Regions from separate parts of the Homo sapiens genome. Here all the other regions are linked to region 3. Evidence: promoter capture Hi-C in human tissues and cell types (Jung and others, 2019). All regions are on one chromosome and are shown on one strand. The core of a region is centred on a gene start or on the middle of the fragment in contact, and the rest is flanking DNA. Distances in the headings are between cores, read along the strand shown.

What was found. The method cuts DNA at HindIII sites, captures the fragments that hold promoters and counts their contacts. A contact is called where the count stands out against the background at its distance.
Region 1: a contact is called between a fragment that was not itself captured here and the fragment with the promoter of KLHL22 in region 3, in 2 of the 25 tissues and cell types used here (H1 embryonic stem cells and IMR-90 fibroblasts).
Region 2: a fragment that was not itself captured here is called in contact with the fragment with the promoter of KLHL22 in region 3 in 3 of the 25 tissues and cell types used here (H1 embryonic stem cells, mesenchymal stem cells and pancreas).

Annotation. Positions count from the first base shown.
Region 1 is chr22:20,623,414-20,628,188 of GRCh38, reverse strand. It overlaps the pseudogene SMPD4P1. Among named protein-coding and RNA genes, the nearest start is that of MED15, 120 kb to the right of the region's middle. The HindIII fragment of the contact is 4,060 bases long and covers 1-3,947 here.
Region 2 is chr22:20,663,138-20,668,132 of GRCh38, reverse strand. It overlaps the pseudogene ABHD17AP4. Among named protein-coding and RNA genes, the nearest start is that of SERPIND1, 110 kb to the left of the region's middle. The HindIII fragment of the contact is 5,707 bases long and covers 334-4,995 here.
Region 3 is chr22:20,494,437-20,499,001 of GRCh38, reverse strand. It overlaps KLHL22 (kelch like family member 22), which reads left to right and starts at 3,207. Exons shown (of 7, transcript NM_032775.4): 1 at 3,207-3,242. LOC101928824 (a long non-coding RNA gene) reads right to left here and starts at 3,089. Exons shown (of 4, transcript XR_007068011.1): 1 at 2,315-3,089; 2 at 211-335. RefSeq lists an enhancer at 2,041-2,693 and a silencer at 2,888-3,547. The HindIII fragment of the contact is 15,001 bases long and covers 1-4,565 here.

The DNA.
Region 1 (4,775 bases), core at 668-3,167, 130 kb before region 3:
CTTTTTTTTTTTAGCAGAGATGGGGTTTCACCATGTTAGCCAGGCTGGTCTCAAACTACTGACCTCAAGTGATCCACCTGCTTCAGCCTCCCAAAGTGCTGGGATTACAGGTGTGAGCCACTGCACCCGGCCTGCCCTTTACATTTTTGCTATAATTTTAGAATCAGCTTGTCAATTTTTACCAAACCTACTGGAATTTTGGATGCTAAATTGGCTCACAATGAAGTTAAAAACCAAATAAGAATGAATCCATTGCCAAATCCAAGATCTTGAAAATGTAATTCCATGTTTTTTGTTTAGAGTTTAACAGTTTTAGTGTTTATACTTAGGGCTTTGACCTATTGTGACTTAATTTTTGTATATGGTGTGATGTAGGGGTCCAGCTTCATCCTTTTGCATGTGGATATCCAGTTCTCCCAGCACCATTCTTCAAAGAAATGAGTGTTTTCCCCACTGAATGGTCTTGTACCTAAGTTTTTACTCAGCTCGGTGAAAACGTGCTCTCACTGATGAGGCTGATAAGGTTTTGTCTTGAATTGGGACCTGGGAATAGTGCTGGTAATTTGGAGATGACATGAACATTTATTTGGGGCTACCCCAGTGCTCTCTGCTGGTTGAGCAACTGCGCCATCCAGCCAGTTGGAAGGTTTGTAATGAGGGAGCTGAATGAGACAGAGACGAGAAGAAAGGGCGAAAGTGGAAGAACTGCATCAAGAATTCAGGAGTGAAGAGGGAGCAATTCTCCTGAACATTCCATGAAATAATCTAAATAAAACCACCTAGTACCAAGCCTGCCCTGTAGGAGATGCTTGGTGATGTTCTGGTTGTCTTTGAGTCAAGATGGAGTCCATCTGGGTCGGAAAGATAAAATGACAATCTTGCTGAAGTTTTTCTCCATCCGAGGTGGAAGTGAGATTTCCCACTCATGCTCTCCAGCGCTTGGACTTGCTTTTGGGACCAGCTCTGATGAACCTGTGTACACTGAGTTGCAAGTGATGGACAATAGCTCAGACCAACAGTCCACAGGTGAGTTGCAAGTAACCCCAAGGTGTTAATGGCTGTTCCTTGGCAGAAAGAGTTCAATGTGTTTATGAAGCATCACATACCACATTCCCCTCCTGGGGACTGACAGTGTGTGTGGTGTATAGAGCAAGTCCTGGCATACAGCAAGTGCTGTACAAGCATTACCAAGGATTCAGTACCACAGACTTGGCTCTGAAGCTGGCCACTGTGGGCTGCATGCGAATGGTGTTTCTGTAAAATGTGGGAATTGCTGGCCGGGCGTGGTGGCTCACGCCTGTAATCCCAGTACTTTGGGAGGCTGAGGCAAGTAGATCACTTGAGCCCTGGAGCTGAAGACCAGCCTGGGCAACATGATGTAACCACATCTCTACAACAAATATAAAAATTAGCAGGGCCTGGTGGTGTGTGCCTGTAGTCCCAGCTATTTGGGAGGCTGAAGCAGGAGGATCGCTTGAGCTTAGGAGTCTGAGGTTGCAGTGAGCTATGATCATACCACTGCACTCCAGCCTGAGTGGGAAAGCAAGACCCTGTCTCTACAAATAAATAAAGAAGACATGAGAATCGATAATGTAATGCATGTTGAGTTACACAAATGTTCTCCTGGGCATTGTGAAACTATGTAATATTTTGTTAGGGCCAGGTGCAGTGGTTTACACCTGTAATCCCAGCACTTAAGAGGCCAAGGCAGGAGGGCCAGTGGAGGCCAGGAATTTGAAACTAGCCTGGGCAACATAGCGAGACCCTGTCTCTACAAAAAAGAAAATAAGAAGAAAATTAGCCAGGCATGGTGGTGTGTGCCTGTAGTTCCAGCTACTCAGGAGGCTCAGGGGGAAGGATTGCTTGAACCCAGGAGTTTGAGGTTGCAGTGAGCTATGATCGTGCTATTGCATTCTCTCCTGGGCAACAGAATGAGACCCTGTCTCTAGAAAAATAAAAAGATTCTGCTGTGCTGCAGATGTTGAGATTTTGTCTCTGTTTTTCCACAGTGGTTTGCTAAGAAGGCCATTTTCAACTCTCCACTGGAGGCTTTTATGGCGTTCCCTCACCTGCAGCGGCCCAGCTTTCTACTGGTAAATATCAGCTGTCTGGATGAGTGTCAGTGTGGCCACAGCTCTGTAGCTGTGGGACTTGAATGTTCTTCCCATTGACTTGAAGAATTCTCTAGTGGTTGTCTTTTAGGAGCGTGTGATGGAAGCAATGCCAGACTCCTTAAGCTTGACTGTGCCCCCTTATTACTACAGGGCCTTGGGGTTACTCAACCGCTGGGCTCTGGGCTCTGGGTTTTCCCATACAAGACAAATTCATTCAAGTTCTATTTTCTCTACTTCCCAAGGGGGTATGAGGAGGAGGAGGGGGAGGAGCAAATGAGAATGATGTACATCAGAGTGTTCATGATCTGTAAGTTCTTAAACAGACATGAAACATTCTGATAATCATAATTGTCATTAGTGAAAAATGGAGACACTCTTATGTTCTGAGGGGGTGCTAGGTTAGCACTTTAACTATTAAACATGGTGCTGAGAACTGGGTGTAATGGTCCGTATCTGTAGTTCTAACTACTAAGGACACCGAGGAAGGAGGATTACTTGAGCCCAGGAGTTTTAAGACCAGCCTGAGCAACACAGTAAGACTCAAAAAAAAAAAAAAGAAAAAATGATACTGAGAAGCGAGAAGTTAGGTATGAGCAAGTATTGGTGATGAAAGTTCCTAATTTTAGTTCTTAGGAGGTATTTTTGTAAATATGTATGTGGAAGGACGTTCCTCCCCAGGGCACCCCACTAGAGCCACCAGGTCTGCCACATGGCCAGACAACTCAGGTCTCCATCTCTTGTCTCAAATCCTGTGAAATCCACCCTCATTTGGAGGTAGACAAGGCATTTGGAGGTAGACAGATTCTAGCAGTTTCTCCTGATGTGAGTCCATTTGCACAGACGCTATTTTTATCCTTGTAGTCAGGATGCTTTCCGTATATCCCACGACTGTGGGTAGATTTTATTAGTCCTTGTCCTGAGTCTTTTCTGGCCTCTCCATTGCCTTTATGTTTAGTGTTTACTTGGTGCAAGCCATCTATAATTTTTACCTGCCTTGTGTGTGTGTGTGTGTGTTTTGTTGTTGTTGTTTTGCTTTGTTTTATTTTTTTTTTTTTTGAGACGGAGTTTCTCTCTGTCGCCCAGGCTGGAGTGCAGTGGTGCGATCTCAGTTCACTGCAACCTCTGCCTCTCAGGTTCAAGCGATTCTCCTGCCTCAGCCTCCAGAGTAGCTGGAATTACAGGCATGCACCACCAAGCCCGGCTAATTTTTTTGTGTTTTTTTAATAGAGACAAGGTTTCACCATTTTGGCCAGGCTAGTCTTGAACTCCTGACCTTGTGATTTGCCCACTTTGGCCTCCCAAAGTGCTGGGATTACAGGCGTGAGCCACCACGCCCGGCCCTGCCCTGTGTTTTAAGGTCATTGGTTTAGTAGGTTCACTGTCTGCTGAATAAAAGACAGCTCAGTTAAGAGAGGATGCTGTAGCCCTGATTTTGTTGGGCATTCTTACTGATGATCACAACTGTGTAATCATGATGGTCCATCAGGTGGGAAATTTCCATTTGATGCGTACGAACTCAGTAGTACTCTGTGGTCTGTGAGAGGTGCCCTTACACAATCGAGATCCTCTTCTGGCTCTGGGGCTGACCCTGGGGCCAACCCCTACTTATGGATTGGTGGAAGTCAGTCCTGTTCTGATGATGAGCAGCACGCTGAGTTGGTACTGGGAAGCAAGCCTGAGAGTTCCTGGTCCAGAGTGCATAGAACCACAGCCTCTCCTAGTAGCATCCTTTGGGCCACTGACACACATGAGGGGCTGGGGAATCACGCCAGTGGTTATGTGTCTGACTCATAACCTATCACTTGGATTTCTGTTTGACTCAAGCCAGAGTATCACTAAAAGCTGCAGTGAATGTCCTCATGATTTTTTCACTTTGTTCTACCTTCTAGGCTACCCTGAAAGCTGACTCTGTAAATAAGCCCTTTGCACAGTGATGCCAAGACTTGGTTAAAGTCATTGAGGATTTTCCAGCAGAGGTATAGCTCTGCTGACATCTCTCTTTGGAGCATGTCTTACACATTCCTTTAAAAACTTTATTATAATTCCTAATTCCCCCCACCACCCCCACTCCAAGCACTGCCTGGCACAGAGTCCTGGCCCATTATCATGACCGTCATGTTTATGGACACATTTAAATATGTGAACTTGCAGATCAGGAGTTCTTAACCACAGGTGCTCTGTCCCTCAGGGGACACTTGGCAATATCAGAGACATTTTTGATTATCACAACTGGGGGTGATGGGGAGTGTGTGCTACTGGCATCTAGTAAGTAGGGGCCAGGGATGCTGGAAACATCCTGCAAAGCACAGGACAGCTCCCTGCAACAAAGAAGAATCCAGCCCAAAATGTCAATAGCATCAACGTTGAGGAACCCTGATGTAAATGCTAAAAATATGTATTTAAATCACACCTGGAATTGTCAAGCCCAGGAAGCTGGCCTAGACAAGGAGTTAATACCAAATGACAACAGGTCAGTTAGATTTTAAGGGCTTCACTCTGGGAAGGGTGTTGCTTTCCTTTCTAATAGAGCATCCTTCGCATCCATCAGAAGTTTCTGACATTAAAAAAAAAATCTTTTGGTGTGGTGGCTCATGCCTGTAATCTCAACACTTTGGGAGGCTGAGGTGGGAGGATCACTTAAGGCCAGGAGTTTGAGACCAG
Region 2 (4,995 bases), core at 1,938-4,437, 170 kb before region 3:
GCCGCGGTGGTGCTGCACTCGCCGCTCACCTCGGGCATGCGCGTCGCCTTCCCCGACACCAAGACCTACTGCTTCGACGCCTTCCCTAACATCGAGAAGGTGTCCAAGATCACGTCGCCCGTGCTCATCATCCACGGCATGGAGGACGAGGTGATCGACTTCTCACACGGGCTGGCGCTCTACGAGCGCTGCCCCAAGGCGGTGGAGCCGCTGTGGGTGGAGGGCGCCGGGCACAACGACATCGAGCTCTACAGCCAGTACCTGGAGCGCCTGCGTCGCTTCATCTCCCAGGAGCTGCCCAGCCAGCGCGCCTAGCGGCGGGCCCCAACCGGCCGGACCTCAGCAATAAGGCGGCCCCCGGACCTCACCCCGCGCCGGCCCCCCAGGGGCTGCATGTGGACCCCCGGGCGGCCTAGGGGACCCTGCCCCGACCCAGGGGCTGTGGACGATGTACACAGTCAACAGAGCTACGCACTCCTTTCCTTTTGGAAGCAAAAAGAAAATATGTGAAAACAGAAATTAAAGATTTAAAATTTAAAAAAAAAAAAGAAAAAAAAATTTTGTTTCCGGGAAGTAACATCTTAATTTAAATGGAGGAATTTACCAAATCAAGTACAAGGATTTTATTTCTGCTACTAAATGGAAGATATATGTAAAATATAGACTCCATCACTCTATTCTTTACTATCATGAGAATTAATATAGACAGCATATTTTAGACAGAGCATACAAAGCCTTATGTTCACTGAATTACAAGTAAAATATATGTACGTATCTATAAATAATTATATATCTAATTTAGATAGTAAATGACAGAATTTACTTATTTACCTGTGCATGATGGAATTTGATTCTAGCAATTATTCCGGGTACGATAACTGGTTGAAAATGGGATATGAAGTAAACTGGTATGCTTAAAAGTAACTACATCAAGTGAATTCATTATAATGTCTCCAAGCAAGGCAAGACCACCCTCATGAGATAAGAAATGAGAGGCTACTTATTTTGACTAAGTTGACTCAATGACTTGGGGAACCAAGGACTATATGTACATGGATACTTGTTTTGTACCCCCCCAAAAAAATGTGTTTCCACTGCAGTATTTGGGAACCCATTATTTCTTGATTCATGCTCTTATTTTCATATAAGAGAAGCGTTGATACCCCAAAATCAACTTAAATTTTAATTAACCAAATATAAAATTTTTAAAGACAAAAAAAATTTCATAATAAGAGTTAAGCCAACAGAAAGGGAATATGAAACAACAGAGAAAATCAATAAACCAAAATTAAATGTTTGAAAAGATAACAAAATTGGCAAATGTTTACTTAGGTCAATCAAGAAAAAGAGAGAAGAGACTCAAATTACTAAAATCAGCAATAAAAGAAAACCCATCACTGCCAGTATTACAAAATAAAAATACAAGACAATGCAGTGAAAATCTTATGTTAAAAAAATCAGATAGCCTAGATAGAATGGATGAATTCCTAGAAAGACACAAACTAAAATAGATGAAAGGACTAAGGAGAAATAGAAAATCGAAATAGATCTACAGAAGGTAAAAAGATTGGATTGTAATTTTAAAAACTTACAATAAAAATCTCAAGTAGCTTCCCAGGCAAAATCTATCAAACACACTGAGAAATTAATATCAATTGTTCACCAACTCTTGCAGAAAATAAAAGGGGAGAGAACACTTCCCAATTCATTTTATAAAGCCAGGATTACTGACACCAAAACTGTATCACAAAACAATATAGAACAGTATCTTTCATTTTGTGTGTGTGTGACAGAGTCTCACTCTGTCATCCAGGCTGGAGTGTAGTGGTGCAATCTCAACCCACTGCGACCTCTACCTTCCAGGTTCAAGCGATTCTCCTGCCTCAGCCTCCCAAGTAGCTGGGATTACAGGCGTGCACCACCATGCATGGCTAATTTTTGTATTTTTAGTAGAGACAGGGTTTCACCATGTTGGCCAGGCTGGTCTCGAACTCCTGACCTCAGGTGATCTACCCACCTAGGCCTCCCAAAGTGCTGGGATTATACAGGCGTGAGCCGCCACGCCCAGCACATTGTTTTATAAAATCAAAAGTCTTCAACAAAATATTGCCAAACTGAATCCAGAAACATATAAAATAGATTATGCACTATACGCAGATGTGATTTACCCCAGGAATGCACCATTGATTTAATATTTGAAAATCATTGCATGCAAACACCATATTAACAGAATAAAAGACAAAAATATATAAGCATCTCAGACAGAAAGCATTTGAGAAAATATCACACATTCTAATAATAAAAACACTCCAGGCTGGGAGCGGTGGCTCACAACTGTAATCCCAGCACTTTGGGAGGCTGAGGCGGGCGCAATCACGAGGTCAAGAGACTGAGACCATCCTAGCCAACATGGTGAAACCCCGTCTCTACTAAAAATACAAAAACTCAGCCAGACATGGTGGCAGGCGCCTGTAATCCCAGCTACTTGGGAGGCTGAGGCAGGAGAATCGCTTGAACCTGGGAGGCGGAGGTTGCAGTGAGCCAAGACCTCGCCATTGTACCACTCCAGCCTGGGCAAAAAGAGTGAAACTCTGTCTCCAAAAAAAAAAAAAAACAACAAAAAAAAAACAAAACACTCCAAATTTACGAACAATAAGGTAACTTCCTGAAACTAGTGGTAGTTACCTATGAAACTTACAGCTATCATTATACTCAGCAATGAGAGGGTGAATGACTAATCAGTTACAAGAATGTCCACTCTTGCAAATTCTATTCAACATTATATTGTAGATTGTAGCGAGGTGTAGTAAAGAACGGAAAATTTAAAACATCCTTATTGAAAAGAAAATAATTTTTTTATATTTACACATGGCACGATCTCATATATAATTCTAAGAAATTCAGTAAAATACTATTAGAAATAAATTTGACGTAGTTTCAAGATATAAATGCAATACTAAAAATTTAATTTTATTTCTATATACTATCAATAAACTGCTTTAAAATGGTATTAAGGAAACAAACCCATGTATAATACCAACAAAACAAGTAATAAATTTAGAAATTAACAAGAGCAGTGCAAAATTCATACTTTGAAACCTGCAAAATATTGTTGAAATAAGTTGAAGAACAATTAAATAAATGAGAAGTGGTGGAGCGAGATGGCAGAATAGAACTCTACAAGATTGTCTCCCTGCAGGAACATCAAATTGAACCACCAACAATCTAAGCAAGAGAATACCTTCACAAGAGCCAAAGAAATCAGGTGACAGATCACAGAACCTGGTTTTAGCTTAAAAACAAGAAAAGACACATTAAACAGGGTGGAAAAGACAGTCTTGCAGTGCCTATACCATCCCTCCCTCAACCCCAGGCAGTGCAGAGAGACAATGTGTCCACTTCCAGGAGGGAGAAGAGAGTGTGCATTAAACTTTGCCTTGGAGCCCAGTACCAGCTCTGCTACAGTAAAACACAGCACTGGGCAGAACCCCATGGTCCTTGATTCCAGGCCGGTGCCCACAGACAGAGCATTTAGACATGACCTGGGCTAGAAGGGAATCCACTGCCCGGTGGGACAAACCTGAGTCCTGACTTCCTTCACCACCAGCTGTTTAAAGTGGCCTCAGGCTCTGAATAAATTTCAGTGGCAGGCAGGCCATAGCCACTGTGGTCCTTGGGTGAGCCCCAGCAACCAATGATGTGCTGGTCTGGGAGGCTGTGGGTTTCATATATGACATCCGCTACAGTGGCCACAGGGCTGCCTGTGTTACCCTAATCCCAACTCCAGGCAGTGCAGTGCCGGGAGAACTCCTTTCCTATGCAGGAAAGAGGAGAACCCAGTCCAGGCTCCACCACGGTGGACACAGCATCAGGCAGAACACAGTGGCCCTGATCCCAGGCAGGAGCTCCCAGACACCTCTAGACCTGCCTGGAGGTAGAAGAGAACCTGCTGCCCTGGCGGGATGGACCTAAACCCTGGCCAGCTTCACCACCAGCAGAGTAGCTCGGCCTCAAGACCTACATAAGTCAGCAGCAGTCAGGCAGTAGTGGCCACAGGACTCAGACAAGCCCCAGTGCTGCTCTGGTCCTAGAGGCTGTGGGCTTCGGGTATGTGGTGCCAGCTGCAGTGGCCATGGGAGTGCCCAAGCCACCCTTCTCCCAGATCCACAAAGCTTAGTACCCAGACTCCTTCCAATGGGAAGAAGAGGGAAGTGAATGAAGCACTTTGCCTGGGAACCCAGGGAACCCCTCCCTTATCTTCTCCAAGTCCATCAGGGCCCTCTGGGACCTCAGTCCTGCAAGAGTCACAGTGAACCTGAGCTTAGGGCACCCTGGTGCTGAAACAGCTTCAGTGACCCCAGCCTTAGGGAACTCAATAGTCAGTACCCTTGGAATTTCTGGAAGACCATCTAGAGGAGGACAGGTACAAACAAGACCAGACTACAAAGACTGGAATAAATACTGACTTATTCAATTCCCAGGCATGAACATAGGCCCAAATGCATTAAGAACATTCAGGGAAGTATGACCTCACCAAACAATAAACAAGTCACCAGTGACTAACCTAGGAGAGATAAAGATGTTAAACTATTCAGAGAGGGAGGTAAAAAATAGCTGTTTTGAGGAAAATCAATGCAATTTTAAAAATATAAGTAATTCGGAAATGTATCAAAGAAATTTAACAAAGAGATTGAAATAATTTTAAAAGACCACAAAAACCTCAAAGCTGAAAAATATAATGGATGCACTGAAAAATGCATGAGAGGGCCTCAACAGCAGAACTGATCCAACAGAGAAAGAATCAGTGAGCTCACACAGGCCATTTGAAATACACAATAGGAGAAAAAAGAAAAGAAAAAAAAGAATGAAGGCAGCTTAGGAAATCTATGGGATAGTATCAGAAGAGCAAATTTAAGAGTCATTGGTCTTCAAGAGAAAGCAGAGAAAGAGTAGAAAGCTTATTCAAAAAGATGGTAACAGAAAGCTTTCCAATTC
Region 3 (4,565 bases), core at 1,958-4,457:
AGGAAAGAGGTAGCTGTGCCTGGGAGGAAAGGATCAATAACAAACAGTTACCCCTCAACCAAATTTAAGCAAGAGTCACAATCCAGACACAATGTTTTCTTCTGCTAATTTGAATTTGGAAAGGAAGGGACAAGAAGTTTTTACCTTCCACTCTCAGCTGAGTACTACAGGCAGTGATATGGGACAGTTAACCTTGGTAAGAATGCTTACCTTTTGCCAGTTGTCCCAAGTGGGGTGTCTTTGCCACCCCACTTGTTTGTTGGGTGCCAGAAAGAGTAGGGGGAAAAGGTAATATTTTTTCCTCACGCATCACAAGGTTCCTGGTTGACACCCCTCTAACAAAGGACAGATTAACAAGAGAAAAGCATATCAATTTATTTAATATAAATTTTATATGACACAGTAGCCTTCAGAAAAAAGCCCCAGTGTCTAGTGAGGGGTCCGTTCTCTGCTTTTTTTTTTTGAGACGGAGTCTTGCTCTGTCACCCAGGCTGGAGTGCAGTGGCGCGATCTCAGCTCACTGCAAGCTCTGCCTCCCGGGTTCACGCCATTCTCCTGCCTCAGCCTCCCAAGTAGCTGGGACTACAGGCGCCCACCACCATGCCTGGCTAATTTTTTGTATTTTTAGTAGAGATGGGGTTTCACCATGTTAGCCAGGATGGTCTTGATCTCCTGACCTCATGATCCTCCCACCTCGGCTTCCCAAAGTGCTGGGATTACAGGCGTGAGCCACTGCGCCCAGCCGATTCTCTGCCTTGAAGATGGTGCTTATTACAGTGTCCTCACCTGGCAAAAGTGGGGGATGAGCTCCTTCGAACCTCTTTTATACACTGATCCCATGGTGAGGACTTCACCCTCATGACCTAAACCCCTCCCAAAGGCCCTACTTTATAATAGTATCGCACTGAGGATTCAGTTCCAACATATGAATTTTGGGGGTACCGACATTCAGACCACAGTGGCCTTCTTGTTGCTGCCCCAGGATTCCTTTTCCTCTCCTCTCTGGGTCCACCCGTACACCTGGTCCCATTGGGCCTTGGAGGTCAGTCTTCCCCTACCTGGAGCCAAGGGGGGCCTCATCTTCCCCCAGACCTGCTCTTGCTCTGGCTCCCCTGTAGGCAGGGTGGGCCTACTTCCCCACCCATCTCCTGGGCTCATTCTTCACACATCACTGGGCTTATACTGGGGAACCTGCTTCCTTCCCAGGTTTCTAGCCTGCTCCACTCTGGTCTTCACTCCCTGCCTGAGACCACAGCACTGTGGCTGGCTCCCTACTCAGTCTTCGTCTCTACCATATTGGCATCTGCCCACCCTGGCTACAGGGTGCCCTCAGGGCTAAGTCAAGCCTCCAAAGGGCAGGGTCTGCTCTCCAACCTTCCCTTCAGGCTCAGAAAATTCTGGAAACCTCCACACCACTCACTTTGAAGGATCTCACCTCCACGTTTGCTGACACTGTCGGCTTCCTGGAATGCTTTTCTTAATCCCAAAGTCCTCCTCTGTTACACAGTAGGGGGGTCTCCTCCAGAAAGTCTTTCTAGGAGGAAGCCCACTCCCATTTGGAACCTCTGCCTCTGGAGGCCAATCCCGTTCTCTTGATCCTTGTCTGGGACCCTCAGTTATCTCTCTGGACTCAGCCAGGACAGCAATTCTCTTCCGTGTATTTTCCTCCTTTTACATTCCCCTTCCACCAATTTTTTTTTTTTTTTTTTTTTTTTTTTTTGAGACGGAGTCTCGCTCTGTCACCAGGCTGGAGTGCAGTGGCGCGTGATCTCGGCTCACTGCAACCTCTGCCTCCCGGGTTCAAGCGATTCTCCTGCCTCAGGCTCCCGAGTAGCTGGGACTACAGGTGCGCGCCACCACGACCGGCTAGTTTTTTTGTGTGTGTTTTGGTAGAGATGGGGTTTCACCATGTTGGCCAGGATGGTTTCCATCTCCTGACCTCGTGATCCGCCCGTCTCGGCCTCCCAAAGTGTTGGGATTACAGGCGCCAGCCACCAAGCCCGGCCCCACCTTTCTTTTTAACCATGAGCCATCTCCAGCCACATCCTCCCCCTACCACTCTCTCCACCCTTCACAGTCCCTCTCAAAACCACAGTGTGGGACACTCCAACCTTATCCCATCAGGAGGCTCTGTGGCTCCAAGCTCTGGGCGCAGCCATTACGGATACGCCTCGGAGGATGGGACCTGCTCGAAGGTGAGGTGGAGAACAATGAATGCCAAGACCCGCGCACGGACCTCTGGGACCAGGCTTTAAGACTGGGAATTAGATTTACTGCAAAATCTCAGTAAAGGAACGGGCACACAAACTAGCACCTGTTCACTCTGGCGGTGTTAAGCGATTCTCCCCGATATCCCGCAGGGGGCGCGCTACGGTCAGCGGCACCGACCGCGGAGGGAGCGGGGAAGGAGCAGGCCGCGGGAGGGAGGGAATGAGCGCGTGACGAAGGGAACAAGTGGAGGAGAGGAGGAAAGAAGGGAATCAAAGAGGGAGGGAGGCAATGGGAGAAGAGGAGAGGGAGGGAGGGAAAGAAGGGGGGAAATGAGACAGGGAGGGAAGGAATGAGAGAGGGAGGAGAGAACGAGAGTTAAGGAGGGAGGGAAAGGGAATGAGAGAGGGAGGGGATGAGAGGGGGAGACAGGGAGGGAGTGAATGAGTGAGGGAGGAAGGGAATGGTGGGTAAGATAGGAAGGGAAGGAATGAGAGAGTGAAGGAGGGAGGGAATGAGAGGGGGGGAGTAAGAGAGGAGAGAAGAGAGTGAAGAAGGGAATGAGGAAAGGAGAGGGAGGATATGAGCGGGGAGGGAGATAGTGAGGAAGGGCAGGAGGAAGTGAGTCGAGGAATGAGGGTAGGACCGAGGCAAGGAAAGAGTCAATGGATTCAGACGGGGCGACTCTCGGCAAATTCGCTCATTCGTTGGTTCGGCCCCGCCAAGTGCCAGGTGCCGCGCTAGTGCGGGGACTCACTGAGCCTTGGCGATCGCTGCTGTCCTCCGCAGAGCGCCGGAGTGGAGCCGCCCCCTGTCTCCCCGCCCCAGGGCCGCCCCCGCGCTGCTACCCGGCCAGGCCGGGAACCCCCGGGCCTACGTCTGGCCCGCCCGGCGCCTGCGCGGCGCACCCACGTGACGGCCCAGGCCCCCGCCCCGCCGGCTCCTCTCGCCCAGCCTCCCGCCTCGCGCCTCCCGCCTCCCGCCTCCCGCCTCCCTCCAGCTGCGAGTGCGGCCTCGGCTGGCGGCGGCACCAGGTCAGCTGCGAGGCGTGAGCCGAACGGGCCGGGCGGCAGCGAACGCGGGGGTCGGGCGGCAAGCAGGCATCGCTGGGCCGGGGACAAGCTAGCGGCGCGGAGTCCGAGGGGCGCGGGGGCGGGCGCGGGCCGGAGGCTCGGGGGCGGCGACCTGAGGAGAGCCCGCGGCCTGACGTGGCGGGGACGCGGCCGGCGGGATCCCCGGGCGCGGGCGCGTAGGGGCCGGGATCTGGCGCTCGGCCAGGGGCCAGGGTGCGAGGCCTCCTCAGCGCGGCTGCTGGCGCGCCGGCCTCCTGGCACCCGGGCGGGCCCTGTTGCCTGCGGCAGGTCCGAATGCGGCCTTCCTGGCCGCGACCCTCCGCGCTGGAGCGGGCGGCCTTGCAACAGGCGGGCGATTTGGGGCCGGCCTGACGAGCCTCAGTTCCCTCGATCGGGCCCGGGGACTGCAGCCGTAGGAGCCCAGCCTTGCCAGCTCTCCCGGTTTCCTGAGAGGAGCCGGAGATCGCGCTGTCAGTGCAAAATCACCAGAGCGCGAAGCGTCGGCTGCCAGTTCTGACCATTTTAGATCCGGTGCGGGCCGAGCCGAGTGGATCTGGGGCGGGCAGCGGGGCACCGCCACCTTCCGCCTGGGCTCCTCACTGGGCGCCCTCGCTCCGGCCCTCCGCGGGGCCGAGTGCCTCCAAGACGGCTCCCTGGGAGATTCTTCCAGAGCGCACCCTTTGGAAGGCTGCCCCGCTGGGAATCAGCACCCACTCCCTCTCCTCTACCGCAGCCGCCCCCTTTGCCTTTGTGGCCGACCTTGCTTCATGCTGCCAAGGATTGAGTTTCTTTGAGGGGATACTGCTCGTTCGGGGGCCCTACAGAAGGCTGAGGGTATCTACTCAGTAAAATCGTACCGAACTGAAAGTTCCTCTGAAATGATTTTGACTCTGCCATCCATCACTTCATAAAAATTCATCTTGTATCCTTCAGTTTGTAGCTATGTGGCACATTAAGCTTCCTTTCTTCTCCCCACTGAAACTTCGAACAGTACAAAACGGGGAACTTGGCTTGTGATGACTAAAATTGGGGATATGAGACTGGGGGCGGGCGCGGTGGCTCATGCCTGTAATCCCAGCACTTTGGGAGGCCAAGGCTGGCAGATCACCTGAGGTCAGGAGAGACTAGCCTGGCCAACATGGTGAAACCCCGTCTCTACTAAAAATACAAAAATTAGCTGGGTGTGGTGACACGTGCTTGTAATCCCAGCTACTCGGGAGGCTGAGGTAGGAGAATCGCTTGAACCCAGGAGATGAAGGCTGCAGTGAGCCAAGACCCTACCAC